Regions from separate parts of the Homo sapiens genome. Here all the other regions are linked to region 1. The links are contacts of gene promoters, found by promoter capture Hi-C in human tissues and cell types (Jung and others, 2019). All regions are on one chromosome and are shown on one strand. The core of a region is centred on a gene start or on the middle of the fragment in contact, and the rest is flanking DNA. Distances in the headings are between cores, read along the strand shown. Region 1 holds the start of CRLF1 (cytokine receptor like factor 1). Region 2 overlaps SUGP2 (SURP and G-patch domain containing 2). Region 3 overlaps ARMC6 (armadillo repeat containing 6).

Evidence for each region. The method cuts DNA at HindIII sites, captures the fragments that hold promoters and counts their contacts. A contact is called where the count stands out against the background at its distance.
Region 2: a contact is called between a fragment that was not itself captured here and the fragment with the promoter of CRLF1 in region 1, in 1 of the 25 tissues and cell types used here (lymphoblastoid cells).
Region 3: a fragment that was not itself captured here is called in contact with the fragment with the promoter of CRLF1 in region 1 in 2 of the 25 tissues and cell types used here (lymphoblastoid cells and spleen).

What each region holds. Positions count from the first base shown.
Region 1 is chr19:18,605,362-18,608,663 of GRCh38, forward strand. It overlaps CRLF1 (cytokine receptor like factor 1), which reads right to left and starts at 1,438. Exons shown (of 9, transcript NM_004750.5): 1 at 1,181-1,438. The coding sequence starts at 1,295. RefSeq lists an enhancer at 560-1,478. The HindIII fragment of the contact is 9,492 bases long and covers 1-3,302 here.
Region 2 is chr19:18,998,042-19,001,557 of GRCh38, forward strand. All of the region lies in intron 8 of SUGP2 (SURP and G-patch domain containing 2), which reads right to left. Among named protein-coding and RNA genes, the nearest start is that of SUGP2, 34 kb to the right of the region's middle. The HindIII fragment of the contact is 7,801 bases long and covers 1-3,516 here.
Region 3 is chr19:19,038,298-19,041,411 of GRCh38, forward strand. The region is part of intron 2 of ARMC6 (armadillo repeat containing 6); the gene reads left to right. Among named protein-coding and RNA genes, the nearest start is that of ARMC6, 6.3 kb to the left of the region's middle. The HindIII fragment of the contact is 5,677 bases long and covers 1-3,114 here.

The sequences.
Region 1 (3,302 bases), core at 188-2,687:
ACAGGCAGCCCGCAAACAGCCCAGCACAGGGTGGATGAGCCTGGGAGCAGTGTGTGCCCGGCGACCCCCGGGGTGGCCCGTGCGCCTGGATGGGGTGCGTGGAGTGACTGAACATCTGGGGCGAGTGGTGCCTGCCTCTGTGCCCCTGGGTCGCCTCCCCTGTGGGATGTGTGTGACCGTGAATGTGTGTGTCGGGGATGGAATGTGTGTGCGTCCGCGATGGTGCGCGAATGTGCACCTGGGATGCAGTGTGCGCGAGTTTGAGGGCGAGGGTGACGGGCCACAAGCCAGTGTGATTCTTTGTGTGTCTCTGGGTGTGTCCCAGAGCGGGTCTGCATACGGAGACGTATCCTTGCGGGGGTGTTCCTTGGATGGGGGGCCCCAGAGTGCCTGAGGCCAGAAGTCCCTCCAGGGCAGGGGTCTTGGCCCGTAGGGCAGCGGGTTCCCAGTGGGCCCCCTCAAAGTTTGGGCCCGCTGGTGCCCGGACTCACTGGCTCCCGCTCCCTCTCCCTCTCACCCACTCGCTCACAAAGATTCCTCTCGCTGGAGGCTCTCCGCCCGACGCAGCCTGGCTGAAAACGGTTCTAAGCGCCGCCGGTGGCGGGGACTCCGCGGACCCCCGTGCGCCGGGTCCCGCAGGGGGAGGGCGGTGGCGCCGGCCCGTGGAGACACAAGTCCCCCGGGACCCCGGGCTGCGCGCCAGGCGGCCAGAGCGGCCCCCCTGCAGCCCCGCCCTCCCCGTGGGGCTCATCCCTCCGCCTGGGGGGGCCCGCTGGGGGCCCGCACCCAGCGCGCCAACCGCGTGCGCCCCCGCCTGGGAGCGGTGCCCTGCAGTCCCAGGGGCCCAGAGTCCACCGAAGCAGACGCGTGCGCCCGCCACGTCCTGGCATGCAGAGGGTCTCAGGCCGCGATCCCCCCAGCCCCCGGGGGCCTGGCCTGGCGCCCTCGGCCCAGCTGCCCAGGTAACAGGGCCTCGGGCGCGGAAGCAGGACTCTCTGGACAGTGGACTGCGGCGCCGTGTGCCCCGCAGGTGAGGGCGCCCCGAGGGCTGCGCCGGGGGCGCCTTCCTTTGTTCCCCGGCCGTCCAGGTGGCGCCCGCGCCCCCTCCCCCCGCGGCTGCCCCCGGGGCGCCCGCCCTCTGCTCTGGCAGGGGGGAAGGAGTGGGGCGCCGGGTACTCACGGGCTCCTGATCCGGCTCGCGGCGCCCCGAGGACGCAGAGCAGCAGCAGCAGGGGCAGCAACGGCGGCGGCCGCCGCGCGGATTGGGCGGCGGGGCCCCGGCGGCCGGCGGGCATGGGGCCGGCGCTGCCGGGGGCGCGCGGCGGGCTGCGGCTCGGCGGCGGTGGCGCAGGGCGCGGGACGCAGGCCGGGCGCGGGAGGGCGCGGGCCAGGCCGCCCGCACGTCGCTGGGCGCGGACGCGGAGGCCGGAGCAAGTCTGAGCAGCCGAATTGACAAGGCGCTAATGCGCCGCTGGCCCCGCCCGGCCCCGCCCCCGGCCCGGCCCGGCCCCGGGGGGGCGGCGGGCCCCGCACCGGCCTCCCCGCCGCCCGCCCGCCCGCGGGCACCGCGCGCCCCGCCCGTCCCGCCTCCGCCCCACCGAGAACCGCGCGCGCCCTATCCCGCGGCCCAAAGCCCCCTAACTCAACCCCTACCGGCCCAGGACCTCCCTCTCCAACCCTGCCAGCTCCAGGCTTCCCACCCCCAGTCTGGGACCCGGCACCCCCAATCCCGTTTCCATAACCCTGCCCACTTCCCTGCACCCTCCTCTCAGCCCAGTGCCTCTTCAGTGGCCCCTTTGGTCCCCAACCCTGCCCCACTCCTCCATTCCCCCTTCCACGGCCCAATCTTCTGTCTCGGCCCCCACCCCAGCTCTGGCCCCGCCCCCCCCACCGAGCGGTCCTTGAGTCCCGCCTACCCCCATCTCCAGCCCCTCAGCCTTCCCAGGGGCCTAAAAGTCACCCCCAGCCCCACGCCCTCGGCGCGCGGGTTCCAGCCCTCCCACCTCATCCTGCCTCTTTTCGATTCTCCGCGAGTAGCCTCGGCCCCAGGCTTTGCTGGAAGAAAGGAGAAAAAGCAGGAAGGCACGGAGTCCCTCGCCTTCGCCCTGGCTGCGCTGTCCCCTTCGCGCGCGGGATGGGTTTGAGGTTGCTCTGGGCGCCCCGGGGGCCTCGGGAGGGAGCTCCTGCGTGGGCAGACGGGGAGATGTAGTCCCCTGTGGGAGCCGGGACCCAGGCCTGCGCGGGAACTGGGTCCCGCACCGCAGTAAGAGGGATTCCCAGGAGGAGAGCGGTAAGAAGCTCTTTCCCCGGGACCTATTCACACCCCGCCACGGAAAAATCCACTCAGCGGCCCGCGGGTGGGGTGCGCCACGCGGTGAGTAATCGCTTCGGCGGCCACCGCCCGCCGACTCCAGGTAACGCCGGCTGCCCGGAGCGACGCATAGTTTGTCTTCCTTCTTTTGCGCAAAGAGCCTTCTCCGTGTTATTATTTTTGGCCATTGCTCGAGTTTCGGGACCCCTCCCGGTCCGGGCGTCTCATCTCCCTCCTCCCGGTCCCCACCCGATGCGGGCGCCCAGGAATAAAGGGTTCCTGGCCTCCAAGGCTGCTGCGGATGGGGGTGCCTGAAATGAGAGTTGGGGGGTGCAATTACCCACTTTTGGTCGCAGCCCCGCCCCCAGCTGCAGCGCCCAGGGAAGGGAACGGCTCCAAGTCCCCTTTTCCAGGAGTCCCTTAGAGGCCTGGATTCTCTCTCCTGGTCCCCAACCAGCCAAGGGGGTAAAAGTGTCTGAGGGGGGCTCAGGAGCCCCCATTTGTCTGCCCAAGACTGAAGCCCCACCCTCTCCTACTTAAATCTCCAGTTCAGACTCCAGACTGTCAAAAAACAAGATTGGGGGATGGGAGCCTATAGGGGCCCAGGGCGCCCCTGCTCCATCTGAATTCTGGATGGAGAAGACAGACAAGGAGAGACGCTGCCATTTACTTCGGGAAACCAGGCCTTTTGTGCCTCAGTTTCTTCCTCTGCACAGTGGGCACCACCCAGTCTAGGAGCTTCTGTGGGAAGACGCAGGGCAGCAGAAGTCTCTACAATCCAAGCCCTTAGCACAGCACTGGAGGATATCCTGGAGCAGAGGTGACCCCCAGCCCTGCTTGTCCCCTCTGAAACATGGAGCCATAGTCCCACCTGCCAGGGGACCCAGAGGGTTAAGTGGAGGTGGCAGTCCTTGGCTGGAATTGAGTTTTTAGGATACTCACCACTACTCCCCCATGGCTCCTGTCTGCAGATGCTCTCTGTGTGGATAGA
Region 2 (3,516 bases), core at 230-2,729, 390 kb after region 1:
CACCTAGAGCCCAGACCACTGGCTGTTCTCTAGTCCCATTCAATTCTCAATGAGGATCATTCACAAGATGATGCCTGCCTCCATTCATCTCTCCTAAAATCATCTGCTTCCCCTCTAAAGTTACCTACAGCCTCCCATCTGCCCTCTCCCCTACAAAGAGGTATTTCAGCTTCAACCACCTGGCCCTTCTTTGAGTTTTCATAATGTTTTATATGGCTCCTGTGCTTATGCACGTGAATAAATATGTATAACTTTTTTGTTTCAAGACAGGATCTTGCTCTGTCACCCAGGCTGGAGTGCAGTGGCTCCATCATGGCTCACTGCAGTCTTGAACTCCCGGGCTCAAGTGATCCCCCTGCCTTGGCCTTCCAAAGTCCCGGGATTACAGGTGTAAGCCACCGCACACCTTTTTTTATCCTGTTAATCTTCTTATTGTCAGTTCATTTCAACAGGCTTAGACTTGGACCTTCAAAGGCGGAGGGAAATTCCCTTTGTTCTCTTCAGAGGCATCTCCGAGGGTATTATATAAAGTAGCTGTGTGTGTGTATGCATGTGTGTGTGCGTGTGTGTATGCATGTGTGTGTGCATATGCGTGCACATGTGTGTATCTTGTGTGTGTGCGTGAGTTACTGGATGCAGGCGGCCCCTCCATAATGGCATGAGGTGGTCTTGGTGAGGCGGTGTGGGCAGAAGTGTCTCTGCAGGGCAGTTAAGGAGGGGAGGTATGAAGGGAGGAGCTATGCTATGGGCTGGGACAGGAAGAGGGGCACAAACAGTGAAGAGACACCCCTGCAAACCAGGGGACACCAGACAGGACCTGCTACACTGGGGGGCCCCTTGCCATGAGAAAGTGGCCTGGAGAAAAGAGGTGACAGAACCCACCGGCTGAGATGAGAAACGGGGCATCCGTCAGGCCCTTCTGGGAGCTGTGCACGACCTGGGCCCTGGGATGACGGGTAGGGAAGGAAGGGGAAAGGCTGGTCATGGCAGGGCACAGGGGTCCCCAGAGGGCAGGTCTGTACTCTTTTCCCTTTCAGGAAGGCTGCTTGGAGGTGCAGTGGGAGGAAGAGGGTTTGGCTCAGCCTGGAAGTTTCTTCGTGAATGTTCAAATCTGTGTTTAACAATCATGATGGTGGTTTCCTGGACAGCTGGAGGAAAGCCAAGCCCTGTGGGCGAGGTGGAGGTTTGCAGAGGAAAGCTGCAGCCACCACGGCCTCCCTTCCACCCACAGTCACTGGCAGACAGGAGGACAGGTGCAGAGCCCCAAGGAGACAGCAGCATGTGCAGGACACCCACCAGGAACCGCGTTCAGTTTAATCCTCACTGTACCTCCTACCTGCTGGGTAAGTGTGGCCATCCCATTTTACAGACAAATCCGTGGCTCAGGGGTTACACGCCAAGGTTACAAAACTACTCGGTGGCAGGGCTGAGCTAGAGTACAGCTGTGCCTGACACCAAGGTCCTGCTGTGCCCTCATCTGGCCGTGCCCTTATCCAGGCCACACCAAGGGGCACCAGATGCCAGCTCAGCCTAAAACCTGGCACATCAGTAAGGACTATGAGCTCTGGACTCGGGAAGGTCCCTCCTTCCTGCCATAATTGGGGTCAGACTGACCTAGGTCACTCGGAAGGGGTTGGAAGCAACATGGCACTGCCTGACACCAGCAGAGCGATCTCGCCTGGCTCCCCGCCCTCCTCCCTGACCATGAAGGACTGGTGAAGTCTCTCCACATGTGTCCCAGGTGACCCTGCTTGCCCCCAGCACTGTGTCCCCCAGGCCATCTGGAGTGTACCTGCCCCCTTTCCATAACCTGGCTCCAGGTCAGTGAATGGCAGTTCTGTCCCTCTTCTGCCCAAGCTGACAACCCTGGGGTCATCTGGACTCCTGGCTTTTGCACACCCAGCCCACAAGCAGGTGTCACCCACTCCATCTTCTCCCCTTCTCATTGCTCCTCATGCCCTGGTCCAACTGTCTTAAGTTTGAGCCTCCTCCTGGTTCCCGCCCACAGGCTGCTCTCCACCCTAGTGGCCACATCCACCACAGGTCCCAGAGGTACCCTCCCTTCCCTGAGAAAGGGCCACAGCGTTAACATCTGTTGAGGTCCTGTGTGACCACCCCCCGGATTCCTCTGCTGCCACAAAGGCCTCTTGCTGCCCCAGCCTCTCTACCGAGGCTGTGCCCTTCTCAGATCTCTACACTGTTTCTCCTCAGCTCCTCCAGGCTTGTGCCAACGTCATCTGCAAGAGAGACCTCCCTTGGCTTTCCCAATTCAGCGGCATCCCCTCGACCCCACCTTATTCTCCCTCTCTTTGACCTGCTTCTCTTTGCCCACAGCATCCCCAGGACTGCCTCATCCATTTCTCTTTCACTGTTGGCCCTGCTTGCTGCTGCCTCCAGGTGGACAGTCGGGACCTGGCACGTAGGAGGTGCTGACCGCACACACCACGCTCTGCTTACTAGCAGATTAGTGAACTCTCTTCACCACCCTTCCAGTCTACTAAGCTTGTAAGTTTTTATGTTTTATTTTTTAAGGAGACCAGGAGGAGACATAGGTCTCACTATGTTGCCCAGGCTGGCCTCAAACTCCTGGGCTCAAGTGATCCCCCTGTCTTGGCCTCCCAAAGCACTGGGATTACAGGCGTGAATCAGTGCACCTGGATAACTTGAACTTTTTTTTTTTTTTTGAGACAGGCTCTCAGTCTGTCGCCCAAGCTGGGGTGCAGTGGTGCAATCAGCTCACTGCAGCCACGACCTCTCAGGCCCAAATGATCCTTCCACCTCAGCCTCCAGAGTAGCTGGGACTACAGGCATGCACCACCATGCCCAACTAATTTTTGTATTTTTTGCAGAGACAGGGTTTTGCCTATTGCCCAGGCTGGTCTTAAACTCTTGGACTCAAGCGATCTGCCCACTTTGGCCTCCTAAACTGCTGGGATCACAAGTGTAAGACACCCAATCGGCCTTAGCTTGAACTTCTTTTTTTTTTTTTTTTGAGACGGAGTCTCACTCTGTCGCCCAGGCTGGAGTGCAGTGGCGCGATCTCGGCTCACTGCAAGCTCTGCCTCCCAGATTCATGCCATTCTCCTGCCTCAGCCTCCTGAGTGGCTGGGACTACAGGCGCCTGCCACCATGCCCGGCTAATTTTTTGTATTTTTAGTAGAGACGGGGTTTCATCGTGTTAGCCAGGATGGTCTCGATCTCCTGACCTTGTGATCCACCCGCCCTCTGCCTCCCAAAGTGCTGGGATTACAGGCGTGAGCCACCACACCTGGCCTAGCTTGAACTTCTTAAGGGCCAAGACATTATCTCGTTTATCTCTCAAATCCCACTGCATCCATTACAGGGATCTCAACTATCCATTACACAGATGAATCACTAGTCTATGCTTTGGACAAAGGCAAAACAGTTTTCAAAAGCCCTCCCAAGAGAAAAGTCTCTGTTGTGTTTTACACATTAATACCTCAGTTTGAAATGTTAGCACAGCTTAATCACAAGCTGCAGCATCCTTTGGAACTC
Region 3 (3,114 bases), core at 164-2,663, 430 kb after region 1:
CTGAAACCATCCCCACCCTAGCCCCACCATATCCATGGAAAAATTGTCTTCCACGAAACTGGTCCCTTAGGCTAAAAAGGTTGGGACTGCTGAGCTACAGGTTTGAAACAGAATTGCAAAGGGATTTGGTGTTTTTACCAAGAGTTTTATCTTACTTAACTCTATGTCTTGTTCCCACCTGTCAGAGTGGAAGGTACTGCCCAAGGTTAGTGGGTCATCTAAGTGTTGATACCTACCCCTGGTTTCCAGGGTATGCCTATACTGGGTTTTACTTGTTTGTTTATTTATTTATTTTTTGAGACGAAGTCTTGCTCTTGTTGCCCAGGCTGGAGTGCGATGGCGTGATCTTGTCTCACTGCAACCTCCACCTCCCTGGTTCAAGCCATTCTCCTGCCTCAGCCTCCCGAGTAGCTGGGATTACAGGCGCCCCACTAATTTTTGTATATTTAGTAGAGACGGGGTTTCGCCATGTTGGTCTTGAACTCCTGACCTCAGGTGATCTGCCTGCCTTGGCCTCCCAAAGTGCTGGTATTACAGGCATGAGCCACCATGCCTGGCCTTACTTGCTTATTTTTATTTTATAAGGTGGGTTTGTGTGTATACACACACACACACACACACACACACACATTTTTTTTAAGAGATATGGTCTCACTGTGTTGCCGCAGGCTGGTCTCAAACTCCTGTGCTTGAGTGATCCCCCCGCCTTAGCCTCCCAAGTTGCTGAGATTACAGGCACAAGTCATTGCTCAGTTCTTTTTGTTTTTAAACAGATTAGCACTTTAAGAAATTGAGCTATAATTTACATACCATAATATTCACTCATTTGATTTAGTAATTTTTTTTTTTCTTCTGGAGACATGGTCTCCCTCTGTCATCCAGACCGGAGTGCAGTGGCCCAGTCACAGCTCACTGCAGCCTTGAACTCCTGGGCTCAAATGATCCTCCTGCTTCAGCCTCCCGAGTAACTTCAACCACACGCAAATGCCACCACACCTGACTATATTTTTAAATTTTTTTGTAGAGACGGGGCCTTACTATGTTGTCCTTGCTGGTCTCAAACTCCAGACTTGAAACAGTCCTCCCACCTTGGCCTCCTAAAGCACTGGGATCACAGGTGTGAGCCACCATGCCTGGCCTGATGTAGTGATTTTACGTTTTCACAGAGTTGTACAACCATCATCACTATAATTCAAGAACGTTTTCATCACCCAGAAGGAAACCCTATACCCATTAGAAGTTACTCCCCATTCCCTCTCCTCCAGTCCCTGGCAACACCCAGTCTGCTTTTTGTGTCTGTGGATTTGCCTGTTCTGGATATTTCATGTCATTGGAATCGTGCAATATGAGGCTTTTCGTGTCTGGCTTCTTTGACGAGACATCATGTTTTTGAGGTCTATCTCCATTGTAGCATGCTTCAGCACCTCATTCCTTTCTCTGGCTGAGTAATATACCACCATGCGCACAGACCATTTTATCCATTCATCTGTTGGTAGACTCCGTCTCCTTTTCTTTGTTCTTGTGATTTATTTGTTGAAAACTCTGGGTGTTTGTCCTCTAGTTGACATTCTCTTCCCTAGTAGGGATTTTGCAGATCACATCCCCATGGTGTTGGTTAAGGTGTCAGAGCTGTGCTGTGCAATACCATAGTCACTCGTCACACATGGCTATTTACATTAACAAATTAAAATGAAATAAAATTACACACTCAGTTCCTCAGCCACACTGCCACACTTCAGCTGTGTGATAGCCACAGAGGCCAATGGCTTCTGTACTAGGCAGTGCAGATAGAGAACGTTTCATCATAGCAGGAAGTGCCCTGAATGCATGATCAGATTCGGGTTTGAGATTTTGGCACGATGACTTCACAGGTGCATTTTGTTCTTGTTCAGGAGGTAGGTGTTGCTGGTTTCTCTTGATGATGTGAGATCAAGCAGTAGACTGAGTTCCTGTCTACCCCTTGTTGGGCTCCCATCAGTTTTACACCTGATGGTTTTGGATCCTGTGGGATCATTATCTGTTTCTCTCCTGTCACAGCTGATCAGCTGGAATCGGAAGCAGAACTTTTCCTCATCCTCTTTTTATAACCTGGGACTCATTTGTACAAGGGAGGCAGGTTAAGTGCTAGGTTTTTTTTAAAAAAATTGTTACTAATTATTGTAGAGACAGTGTCTCGCTACGTTGGCCAGGCTGGTCTTGAACTCCTGGATTCAAGTGATCCTCCCATCTCAGCCTCCTGAGTAGTAGCTGGGAGTACAAGAGCATGCCACCACTCCCTGCCAAGAGCTGGATTCTTGGCCAGTTTTCAGAAGCCTGAGCTGTATTTGTTTTAGTATTATGAAAGCACAGAGTTTGACTTTTTTTTTTTTTTGCAACATCGTCTGACTGTCAGCCAGGCTGGAGTGCAATGGCATGATCTCGGCTCACTGCAACCTCCGCCTCTGTGCTCAAGTGGTTCTCCTACCTCGGTCTCCCTGATTGCTGGGATTACAGACGTGAGCCACCACACCTGGCCCAGATTTTGATTTTGATATGTACTGGATTTTTTTTTAATGCTCACTTGTCTCATCTGTAGCTACCAGGCATCCCTTAGGGTTTGGAAGCTTCCTTGCTTCCTGGTCTCACAAGACCCCAGCGTTACCTGCCCCATGACCTGCTGGGACTTGGAATCAGCCATTCCTCCAGAAGCCCTGGCTCCTTGTTTTTAAAGATTTTATGTAGAGACAGGGCCTCCCCATGTTGTCCAGGCTAGTGTTGAACTCCTGGCCTCAAGCCATCTTCCTGCCTCAGCCTCCCAAAGTGCTGGGATTACAGGAGTGAGCCACCTAGCCCTGGCCCCAGCTCCTTTTCGTGGGAAATGGTAGAAACCATACATGGTGTTAGAGGTATTCAGTGCTCCTGTGCTGTCATTTCTCCTAGGCATTTTTAGTTGCTATGACTAGAAAATTAGATCTTTGTTTACCTAAGAGAAAACACATGATGGGTTTATATGGATATTCCCATTTCATATATAGGAGTTCTGAGATTTTTTTTCTCAACTTTATCGAGGTATAGGATGTACTTTTTTTTGAGACGGAATCTTGCTCTGTTGCCCAGGCTGGTGTGCAGTGGTGC